Regions from separate parts of the Homo sapiens genome. Here all the other regions are linked to region 1. Evidence: promoter capture Hi-C in 16 types of primary human blood cells and fetal thymus (Javierre and others, 2016). All regions are on one chromosome and are shown on one strand. The core of a region is centred on a gene start or on the middle of the fragment in contact, and the rest is flanking DNA. Distances in the headings are between cores, read along the strand shown.

Evidence for each region. Contacts are between HindIII fragments. The CHiCAGO score rates a contact against its expected background, and 5 or more counts as called.
Region 2: a contact is called between a fragment that was not itself captured here and the fragment with the promoter of SAA4 in region 1, in 2 of 17 cell types (activated CD4 T cells and total CD4 T cells). The highest score is 6.9, in activated CD4 T cells.
Region 3: a fragment that was not itself captured here is called in contact with the fragment with the promoter of SAA4 in region 1 in 1 of 17 cell types (total CD4 T cells); the score reaches 5.7 in total CD4 T cells.
Region 4: a fragment that was not itself captured here is called in contact with the fragment with the promoter of SAA4 in region 1 in 7 of 17 cell types (naive CD4 T cells, total CD4 T cells, non-activated CD4 T cells and 4 more); the score reaches 11.9 in naive CD4 T cells.

Annotation. Positions count from the first base shown.
Region 1 is chr11:18,235,431-18,238,192 of GRCh38, forward strand. It overlaps SAA4 (serum amyloid A4, constitutive), which reads right to left and starts at 1,372. Exons shown (of 4, transcript NM_006512.4): 1 at 1,287-1,372; 2 at 406-500. The coding sequence starts at 496. SAA2-SAA4 (SAA2-SAA4 readthrough) reads right to left here. Exons shown (of 6, transcript NM_001199744.2): 4 at 406-500. The HindIII fragment of the contact is 10,895 bases long and covers 1-2,762 here.
Region 2 is chr11:18,805,093-18,807,854 of GRCh38, forward strand. No RefSeq gene overlaps it. Among named protein-coding and RNA genes, the nearest start is that of PTPN5, 15 kb to the left of the region's middle. The HindIII fragment of the contact is 1,809 bases long and covers 420-2,228 here.
Region 3 is chr11:18,781,690-18,784,451 of GRCh38, forward strand. The region is part of intron 1 of PTPN5 (protein tyrosine phosphatase non-receptor type 5); the gene reads right to left. Among named protein-coding and RNA genes, the nearest start is that of PTPN5, 8.7 kb to the right of the region's middle. The HindIII fragment of the contact is 6,043 bases long and covers 1-2,762 here.
Region 4 is chr11:18,759,365-18,762,126 of GRCh38, forward strand. All of the region lies in intron 3 of PTPN5 (protein tyrosine phosphatase non-receptor type 5), which reads right to left. Among named protein-coding and RNA genes, the nearest start is that of PTPN5, 31 kb to the right of the region's middle. RefSeq lists enhancers at 2,145-2,645, 2,646-2,762. The HindIII fragment of the contact is 703 bases long and covers 976-1,678 here.

The sequences.
Region 1 (2,762 bases), core at 122-2,621:
CAGGATGGGATTTCTCTACTCTCTGCTAGGCATGTCTCAGTCTTGGAGTATAATTGTGAACTCAGTATATTCCCTGAGGTGGATGAGCTAAATAAACATCATGCCCTGAGAAATCTGCCATCTGTAAATTTCCGCAGTGGGAGATAACCCCCTGGAAGTTTTTATCCTTCTGCACTCTACACCAAGAGTACAGGCTGGGCCCAAAGCATCTTTAACCTCTCGTCTGGAAACCCCAAGGGAGGGTGATAAATCAGACCAGCCTAGAGGAAGAAACAGATACAGAAAACCACACTCCTGCTCTGACCTCTGTGTGGCTTCTCTAAGGAGCACTCACATCCAGTGAGTATGTGGCCCCTGCTCAGAATGAATCCTGGGTATGTGCCCTCCATCCTCCAGAGTTCTTACCTTGGAGAGCCTCCTTGAAAAACGAACGCCAGCTTTCACTGGTGACTCCCATGACCAAGGAGCAGAAAACAATGCCTGTGAAAAGCCTCATTGTGCTGAAGAGAAAGAAAGACAGGGGCAGAGGATCATAAAAAAAAACACAGATCTATGTTTTGAGGACTGAATTTCTTTCCTTTTTTTCTTTCTTTTTTTCCTTTTCTTTCTTTCTCCTTCCTTTCTTTCTTTCCTCCCTTTCTTTCTTTCTTTTTTTTTTCCTATTGCCCAGGCTAAAGTGCAATGATATGATTAAGGCTTACTGCAGCCTCGACCTTCTGGGCTCAAGTGATCCTCCCACCTCAGCCTCCTGAGTATTAAGGACTACAAACGTGCACCATCACACTCAGCTAATTTTTTTTTTTTTTTTTTTGGTAGAGACAAGGTCTTGGTATGTATGTTCGGCCCAGGCTAGTCTCGAACTCCTGGCCTCAAGCAATCTTCCTACCTCAACCTCCCAAAGGATTACAGGCATGAGCCACTGTGCCAGCCAAAGGACTGAATTTGAAAGACTAATTCCCCATTTCCATTTGTTTGTATGAGAATCATAACTGCATGAAAGATTGAAACGGGTTTTAAGAAGAAGCATAAACCCTTAATTCTCAGCCCAGATCTCTAGAAAGAATAAGAGGATTCCAACGTGTTATTTGGTCTGTGGTCAATTTGTCACCCAATACAGCAGACTAAAGTCAATCAAGAAGCATTTCCTGAGTTCCTACTCTCCTCAGCACTGACCCCGTAATGAGGTAGAAAACACAGTTTCTCTCCAATTGAAATTTGACAATTATGTGAGAAAAGGATCTCAAAAGAGTCAAATAAGAGAAATTACTCCTTGGAAGAAACCTCACCTGTGGACCTTTCTCCAGATGAAATTTCAGTAAAGGCAGAGCTGCTGGTATCTTCTGGCCGTGGAGCTATAGTTGGTACCTCTGCTGGCTTTGGCATTAATGGGAGAACGGTTTTAAATCCAACAACCTGCCTTGCCAAAGTCCTTTTTGCTCAATTCTTTGGGTATTTTAAAAATTAACATATTGGGTAATAGTGTTTCCTTATCTAGAAGTAGTTTTCCAAATTGGGTCATCAAGGTATTTATTTTCTGGCAGTTTTTCTTAATTGCCACTTTTCCCTCTTTTTAGTTTCCTGTATCACAGAAGAGTTGTATTTGCAAAATCCAGTGTGGGAAGACAGAGGTCTTTCTCCACTTTCTTCTCTTTGTGTCTTTCCATTCTTAACTGTTTAGTAGGAGGTCTTCCCAAAAAATTGCACATAGATATTATGCTGTAGGAAGTGATCAATATTATTAGCAAAAGAGATGTTTGCTTGTCTCTTGTGACTTCTCTCTAAAGAATGTAAGGACACAGAACAAGCAAGACTTGACTGTACCATTCATGGGATGAGGTAATGATTCTGGGAGAATACAAGGACAGGAATAACACCAGAAGATCAAGGGTGAAGGCCTTTGAGGCATAAAAACTCTTTTTTCATATAAATATGTATTATTCTGCACTTTCTTTTAAACTTACTATTTATTGGAAGTCTTTCCATGTCGGGCTTGTTGCTTTTTTTTTTTTTTTTTTTACAGCTACACAGTATTCCATTGCATGGATGGACCATAATTTATACAATATTAATGGCTGTTTTGACAGTTATTAACCTTTTGATATTACAAATAATGGTGCATTTATTAACCTTGTACATATGTCTCTTGCACATGTACAAATATATCTCTAGGATAAATTCCTACAGAAGAAACTCCATGGTGAAAAAGTATCAGATTTTATAAATTTTTTGTTTGTTTGTTTGAGACAGAGTCTCACTCTGTCCCCCAGGCTGGAGTGCAGTGGCATGATCTCAGCTCACTGCAACCTCCACCTCCGGGGTTCAAGAGATTCCCCTGCCTCGGCCTCTTGAGTAGCTGGGATTATAGGCACATGCCACCACATCAGGCTAATTTTTCTATTTTTAAGAGAGACGGGATTTCGCCATGTTGGCCAGGCTAGTCTCGACCCACTTACCTCAAATGATCTGCCCACCTCGGCTTCCCAAAGTGCTAGGATTACAGGCATGAGCCAACGTCCCTGGCCCTAGATTTTATAAATTTTTATATGTTGCAAATTGCCTTCCATGAGGGCTGTATCAATCTCTACTCCCACCAGAAATGAGTGAAAGAACTTGGTTCCACATTGTCTCTCACACAGTATACTCTCAAACTTTTTGGTCTTTGAAATTGTGAGTAAAATAAAACTCAAAGTAATTTTAATTTACATTTCTCTTATTATGATTTTGGTTTCACATCTTTCCACATGTTTAAGAGCTATTTCTAT
Region 2 (2,762 bases), core at 74-2,573, 570 kb after region 1:
TACATTTGTAATAAATGATCATGCTATGCCTGGTTTAAAATCAAGATCACTTTTTCAATTAAGAGATATTGATTTGTGATAAATTGTTAACTGAACCATAGACTTGTAATATTGGCAGGAACCTCAAAATTTCATTTTGCATATCCCACCCACAAGTTCATATACGGGTATGTCTAAACCATCCAATACAACTGAGTTGTCTAAACCAATGGGTTCCAAAACTTCCATCATCAGAAATATTATAACTTAAATAAAAGAGGAGACTCCTAAGTCAGACTTCTGGAATTTTGGTTAAGGAGATCTAGGACAGGACCTGGGAAATGGCATTTTAAAAACTGTACCATGTGATTTCAGTCACAGGGAGGATTGGGAATCCCTGGTCCAGAACATAACTTTCAAATGATCATTACTTCAATTTAAGCTTCACTTAAACTTTGTGCCCATGTTGAAATTGAGATCACTTTTGTAATTTCAGGCCACGTTCTCCAGAAGCAGAATCTGAGGTGGGGATTCATGTGCATGTGATTTACTAAGGAGTGCTCTCAGGGGAAGCCTGTAAGGGAATGGGGAAAGGAGGACAGGGAAGGGGAAGAATCAGGAACACATTCTATGATTTAATGATTTGAAAATGAAACAAACATTTTATTAAATACAGAAATGATGGTATGGTGGAAAAAACATGGGCTTCAGAATTAGATAGACCTGACATTAAAAAATTTAAATTATTAATACTATGTTAGATTGACAAACCATAATTGTATACATTTATGATGTAAAATGTGAAGTTTTAATATAGGTATACAATGTGGCATTAATAAATTAAGCTAATTAACATATCAATCACCTTTCTTGCCTATCATTTTTTAAGGTGAGACATTTGAAATGTACTTATTATGAAATATATTATATAATACATTGTTATTGATTATAGTCAGCCTTCTGTGCAATAGATCTCAAAATCCTTTCCTCTTATGTAATCTGGGTCTTGGTACTCTTTCATCAGCAACTGTTCATTTCCTCCCTCCCCTCTTCCTCAGCATCTGGTAACCATTATTCTACTGTCTACTTCTATGAATTCACATATTTACATTTCACTTATAAGGAAATCGTGAGGTATTTGTCTTTCTGTGCCTGGCTTTTTCACTTACCACAATGTCTTCCAGATTAATCCATGTTGTTGCAAATGACAATATTTCCCCCATTTTAAAGGCTGAATAGTAGTCCATTGAATATGTACACCATATTTCTCTTTATCTGTTGATGGAAACTTAGATCGTTCTCCTACCTTAGCCATTGTGAATAATGCTACAATGAATGTGAGAGTGGAGATACCCCTTCAACATACTGATTTCAGTTTCTTTTTTTGAGACGGAGTCCTGCTCTGTCACCCAGCTTGGAGTGCAGTGGAGCAATCTCAGCTCACTGCAACCTCTGACTCCTGGGTTCAAGTGATTCTTTTCCCTCAGCCTCCCGAGTAGCTGGGCTTACAGGCACCCACCACCACACCAGGCTAATTTTTTTGTATATTTAGTAGAGACAGGGTTTCGCCGTATTGGCCAGGCTGGTCTCGAGCACCTGACCTCAGGTGATCTGGCCACCTCAGCCTCCCAAAGTGTAATTTCAGCTTCTTATTAATATATACCCAGAAAGGAGATTACCGAGTCCTATAGTATTTCTATTTGTAATACTTGGAGAAAACTCCATACTGTTTTTCATAACAGCTGTACTAATTTACATTCCCATCAACAGTATATAAGAGTTCCATTTTTCTCTGAATCCTCTCTAACACTTGATATCTTATCTCTTTGATAAAAGCCATTCTAACAGGTATGGGGGATAGTTCATTGTGGCTTTAATTTGCATTTGCCTAATGATTAGTGATACTGACCTTTTTTCATGTACCTATTGGTCACTCACATGTCTTTTTTTTTTTTTTTTTTTGAGAAATATCTGTTCAGGCGCTTTGCCCATTTAAAAATTGGGTTATTTATTTTTTTTCTTGCTCTTGAATTGAGTTCCTTACATATTTTATAAATTAACCCCTTATCAGATGTATGGTTTGCAAATATTTCTCCCATTCTATGGGTTGTCTCTTCCTTTTGTTAATTGTTTCCTTTGCTATGCAGAAGTTTTTTACTTTGATGCCATCTCATTTGCCTATTTTTCTTTTTGTTTCTTGTGCTCTTGGGATCCTATCCAAGAAATCCTTGCCCAGAAAATTGTCATGAAGCTTTCCCCCTACGTTTTCTTCTAGTAGCTTTTCAGTTTCAGCTTTATAGTTAAGTCTTTTGCCCATTTTGAGTTGATTTTTGTGTATGGTGTAAGATAAAGGTCTAATTTCTTTCTTCTGTGTGTGGATGTGCAGTTTTTCTAATACCATTTATTGAAGAGATGTTCTTTCCCCATTGTGTATTCTTGGCATGCTTGTCAAAAATCAGTTGACTGTAAATGCAAGGGTTATTTCTGGGTTTTCTAGCCTGTCCTACTGGTCAGTGTGTCTGTTGTATGCCAGTACAATGCTGTTTTGATTGCATTGCTTTACATGTTTCGAAATCAGAAAGTGTGATGCCTCCAGCCTTGTTCTTTTTTTTTAATTAATTAATTTATTTTTTTTGAGATGGAGTCTCACTCTGTCGCCCAGGCTGGAGTGCAGTGGCGCAATCTTGGCTCACTGCAACCTTTGCCTCCCTGCAACCTTTGCCTCCCAGGTTCAAGTGATTCTCCTGCCTCAGCCTCCCAAGTATCTGAGACTACAGGCATGC
Region 3 (2,762 bases), core at 114-2,613, 550 kb after region 1:
TACTATAATCTTATATCAATTTCTTTAATATCAGGCTCTGTACTGAGCCTTGGGGGACACACAGATAACTAAGAGCCAGTCCCTGCCCTCCACCCAGCATTCGGCCTAGTGAGTTGAGTGAGAAATGCATTAAAGGCCCACTGAGGCTGTCTTATGGGAGCACTCAGGAGGGCACAAAAACAGAGTCTGGGAAGCTGCACAGAAGAGACCCGAAGGACAAGCAGGAGTTCACCAGATACAGGGAGGACATTCCAGGCAGGGAACACTGCAGGGCAAAGGCCCGGAGAGGTGAAAGCACAAGGTATGCCAGGCAGACGAGGCAGCTCAGTGTAGCCACAGAGTAGACGTAAGAGGGACTCTTGTCACACAGCAGACGGCTTCATGAATCAGCCTAAGACACACTAACTTTGACTCACAGGCCATTTTTTCTCAGGGGGACAGAGGCAGGTATTGCCATGCTAGTTGGCATTTAGAAATCTGTGTGTGTATTGGGGGTTAGTGGGGAAAACGTGACAACGTGGATGGATCTCAAAAACTATGTCTTTTTTTTTTTTTGGAGATGGAGTCTCGTTCTGTCACCCAGGCTTGAGTGCAGTGGCATGATCTTGGCTCACTGCAACCTCCACCTCCCAGGTTCCAGGGATTCTCCTGCCTCAGCCTCCCGAGTAGCTGGGACTACAGGTGTGTACCACCATGCCCAGCTAATTTTTGTATTTTTAGTAGAGATGGGATTTCACCATGTTGGCTAGGCTGGTCTCGAACTCCTGACCTCAGATGATCCACCCGTCTTGGCCTTCCAAAGTGCTGGGGTTACAGGTATGAGCCACTGCGTCTGGCTTCTTAAAAACTATTTCATGACACAAAAGAGCATGTACTATATGATTCCACTTATATGACGATTAGGAACAGACAAAATCCATCTACAATGATAGAAATTGGAATAATCGTTATCTCTGAACTTTTGCGGGTGATGGAAATCTTCTGAGTCTTGCTCTTGGTGATGGTTATATGAGCTCATGCAGTTGTCAAAATGCACTGAACAGAACACTTAAGATCTATACATTGGACTGCTTGTAAAGTAAACCTGAAGAACATGTGTGAGCATTTTTGGTTGTTATAATGACTGAAGGGTGCTCCAGGCAAATATATAGGAGATGGGGCCAGGGATGCTTTTACATCAAAGAACTCTCCCACCCAAAGGCCAGTAGGTCCCTGTTGAGAAATACGGCTGCAAGCTATGGGGAGCCACAGAAGGATGGAAACACCAGAGACTTGGCCACATCTGTACTTTGGTAAGACAGGGCTCTGTGGTGGTGGGAGTATCTTGGGACAGTGATGTGGCACAGAAGGTGGATATATGATTTTCACTGCCACTCCTAGGCCTCGTATTTGCCTAACTCTTAGCCCACTGGCCTGATGCTGCCCCGAAGGGGCCCCAGGAGGTCCCTCTGAGGTACCTCAGATGCTGACCAGCTAGGGAAGTAGCAGAGGCAGCAGATGGCAGTGGGAAATGGCAATGCCTCACCCCCAGCCTCCCTGCCTCATGATAAGCAGCAAGGATGATAGAAGTGATCATCTTCCTCTGAAGTGGAGTCTCAGTGAAGGGGTCTCCCTGAGTGTCTAGAGTCCCTGGAAGCAGGGCTGAACGCTACTGCTGCTACTATAGGAAAGCACTGTTTTACATCATGGGCTAAAGAAGAACACAGCTGACTTGCGTGAAAATACTCACCTGACCCCTGCCTTCGGAAAGCCTTCTCTGACCTCCGTCCTGGGCAGGTGTCTCTCCTGTGTTCCCACAGCCCTACAGAGCACAGTTACTGCCTAGGTTTAAATTCTGGCTCTGACTCTTGCTGTGCGTACCTGAAATAGAGTTACTCAAGCTCTCTGTTTCCTCACCTGCAAATTGAGGATAACAGAAACCGTCTTCACTGAACTGTCACCAAGATTGAGATAATGTAGTAAGCACTCAGTAAGAGTGAGTGCTTATGATGAGCCTAGAATGCATCAGTACAGACCACTGTTGCCAGGTGACTCCTCTGGCACCTCCACTAGACATTAAGCTCCTTGCGGGCAGGGTCCTTGTGGTCGTGTTGATTGCTGAGGGCCTTGTGTCCACCACAGTGCCTGGTACAGTAAATACTTGCATGCTTGAATCAATTCCACCCACTAAGATCTCTCCTGAGAGCTTTCTTTTTCCACCCACAATGCCTCTAAATCACAACAATTCTTCAGAAACGGAGTCAGACTCATTTGTATTCTGTTCCCTCTTCTCTCTTCTCTGTTACCTCCATGGCCATGCAGAACCCAAACAACATTTAGTTTTTAAATTAACAGCTTCTTCCTGGACTCTCTATTCCTAAGACTTCACTCAGTGGTCTTCATACTGGGCACACAAAAATCCTTTTTAAAAAATGCACCCTGCACCTCTCAAAAAGTGAAACACAGAATGATCATACGATCCAGCAATTCCACTGCGAGGTATATACCCCAAAGAATTGAAAGCGGGGGCTCAAACAGATCCTGGCACACCAATGTTCATAGCCGTATTATTCACAATAGCCAAAAGGTGGAAACAGATGAATGGCCAAACAATGTGGTATATCCATACAATGGAATATATTCAGCTTTGAAAATAAATGAGATTCTGATATATGATACCACAGAGACGACCCTTGAAAACATTAGGCTAAGTGAAAGAAGCCAGACAAAAAAAGACAAACATGATGCCACTTACACGAGGCACCTAGAATAGGTGAATTTAT
Region 4 (2,762 bases), core at 77-2,576, 520 kb after region 1:
AGCAGTTAGATAATTTACCACAGGTCATGCTGTTGGTCAATAGCAGAGCTGGGATTTGAACCCAGCTGCCTGGCCATAGCACCCCAAGGCCTAGCTAGATGGGCTCCATCCTGGTGTCTGAGAATAGTTAGCCTCTACTATTGCTGACCAGTGGGCACCTGGGATGGTACTTCTTTTCTCAACACAATGGCATCGTTACAGAATACTGCCCAGTTAGTGTTCTTAGCACATCCAAATGGTGTTTCGTTTATACTTTAATTATCCATTCTGAAGACTCAAGTAAAAAACTCATCGTACCATCAATGACAATAAATATCTCTAAATGTATTTGAAGTCTTGAATGAAAACAGAACCATCAATTCAACAAAGAAATAAAAATCAACAGAACCTCTACCACTGAGTGTTGACAGCTACCGGTGACATCTCAGCAGTACTACTACAACCAGGTCCATCTTCTGGAGGTTTGTCCATTTGGGCTTCTGCACCTGCCCACAGACCAGCTTAAACCAATATAAGCACCACTCTGGGGAGCTTTGTGAAAACAGGGGCTAGCAGATCAGGGATGAGGCCCATTATGAGGTAAACCTGCTCCTTAAAATGCTTGACACAGCAGGTTCCTGAAGACATGAATCGAGACCCTATTCATGTTCTAGGTCACTTCTTAGAGGAAGCCTTCCCTGACCCACCAAGATAGGGTTGCAAAATGGCTGTACCCTTCCATGGCACCCTAAACTCTTTAGGAGCAGGGACCATGTCTGTCTTGCTTGTCACTGTATCACCAGTGCCTGGCAAGCATGGAGCATGGAGTAGGTGCTCAATAAAATTGAGTGGATAAAAGAATCAGGCTGCCTTTTCAACTGCCCTTGTTGGCTACTGGTCCAAGACCTCATCTGTGGCATGGTAGGAAGGCTATGAAAGCTATGACTTGTTCTTTCCTGCTGGTCAGAGATAGGCGCTGCAGGATTAGGGTGACAAAGCTTTCCTTGATTCAGGCCTCCAGCTCCTTTACTTTAAAAAGTGGCACTCGGGATGGGCAGTGGCCTCTTGCTGAGACCTAGACCTTGTCCTTGGCCCGAAGGAAGGGTCCACTTAATACCCACAATGATACAGAGCAGAGTGCCTAGGGCTGGGTTGGGGACAGGTTGCAAGACATCAGGATCTAAGGTGAAGAGTAGGTCTCAGAATCACCAGCCCAAGAGGCCAGTTGTTCCTACCAAAAGTGCAATGGCCTACTCAGGCCTTCAGCATACTCATGACCTTGCATAAAGCCAGCTAATCATGACACACTGAAATCTCAGGTTGGTAGGGATTGTCATGGCTCCAGCCAGCTGCCCGCAGGAAGGCTCCAGGAGTACTTTGTTCCCAAGAGCAGCGTTGTCCTTAGACCTGGGCCCTGTGCCCCGTCTCTTCTGTCCATGGCACTCCCCATGAGCAGAGAAGTCCATAGGGCTCAGGAGATATACTCAACTAGAGTCTGTTAGCAGCTGGTGTCCATGTTCCCCTTTCCAGGATACACTCTAACTACTAGGACTTCAGGATTTCCTGCCCAAATGGCTTGAAGCCTGCATGGGTCTCTTGCTCAGGTACATCCCTGTGAGGGTAGACACTGTCTCCTGCTTACGCATCTTCAGGTTTGAGGGGTGGCCAAGGAGTAGCTATTAGGGTGGAGTGTGGACCAAGCTTGAACATACAGACTGGCCTGCCCACATGCATGCACGCAAGCAATGGCCCTTGCAGTGCAGGACTGAGCAGGGGTGGTATACTGCGAGGGTCTTTATTGGCAGTCTGACCTTGGTCCCTGCAGGCCTGCCCACGAGTCTGCATGATGATGCTGCTGAGAGCAACACCTGGTGATGTTGCTCTATTCCATGTGCTGGCCCCCACTGGCACCTACTGCTGCTTTATCTACCTCCTTCTTCTACCTTGTACCTCCGCGGCAGCTGCTGGGAGCTAGGACTATGCTGGGCTAGGCCTGTACTGGTGCTGGATGGGGGAAGGAGTGGAGTCCCCAACATTAGCAGTGCCACCTGGTGTCTTGCAAATGTGAACACCTACACATAGAAGAAGAGAGATTGTGAGTTTGAATGTACCAAAGTGTTTGGGTGACTGTGAGCAAATGAAGTGAGCAAGAAAGGAAGAGTGAAAGAGAAGAGGAGGGTGACCACATGAAAAAGGGTGTGTGCATGAGGGAGAAGAAAAATACATGTGTGCACATGTGCACAGGGGTGGGGAAGGCAGTGGGGTAGACACTCACTGCCCCCACAGTACCGGGGAGCTGGGCATGACTGAGAGCCTGAGAAGAGGACAGAGAATGGAGAGGGAGAAAAGGAGTCTGCCTAGTCATTTTCAAGAGTGTGCGTGAAGAAGGGGTACAGTAGTGGGAGAAAGAGAAAGACACCTAAGGAGGGAATGAGAGAGCAAGCACATCACCAGGAAGCATGCAGAGTGGAAGCCGCGGGATGGAGGGATGGAGCTGAGAGAGGTGAGTGTGCAAGAGGAAGGCATGCAGGTGTGTGAGCCTGGAGGTGTGCGTCCGCCCCTGCAGGGCTGTGTGAGACAGAGGCAGGCCACGTGCCCGGGTGACTGTGCGTGGGAACATGCATGTGCATCGGGGAGCATGTGGCTATGACAAGTGAGCACAAACACGAGTGTGCGAGAGCACATGTGGGGGGTGTCCCAGGGGCTGTGAGGCAGCATGCCTGGCTCTGGGGCATTGGGGGGAGCTCCCAGGGAGTGTTGGTGATGCTGAGGACGTTTCCACC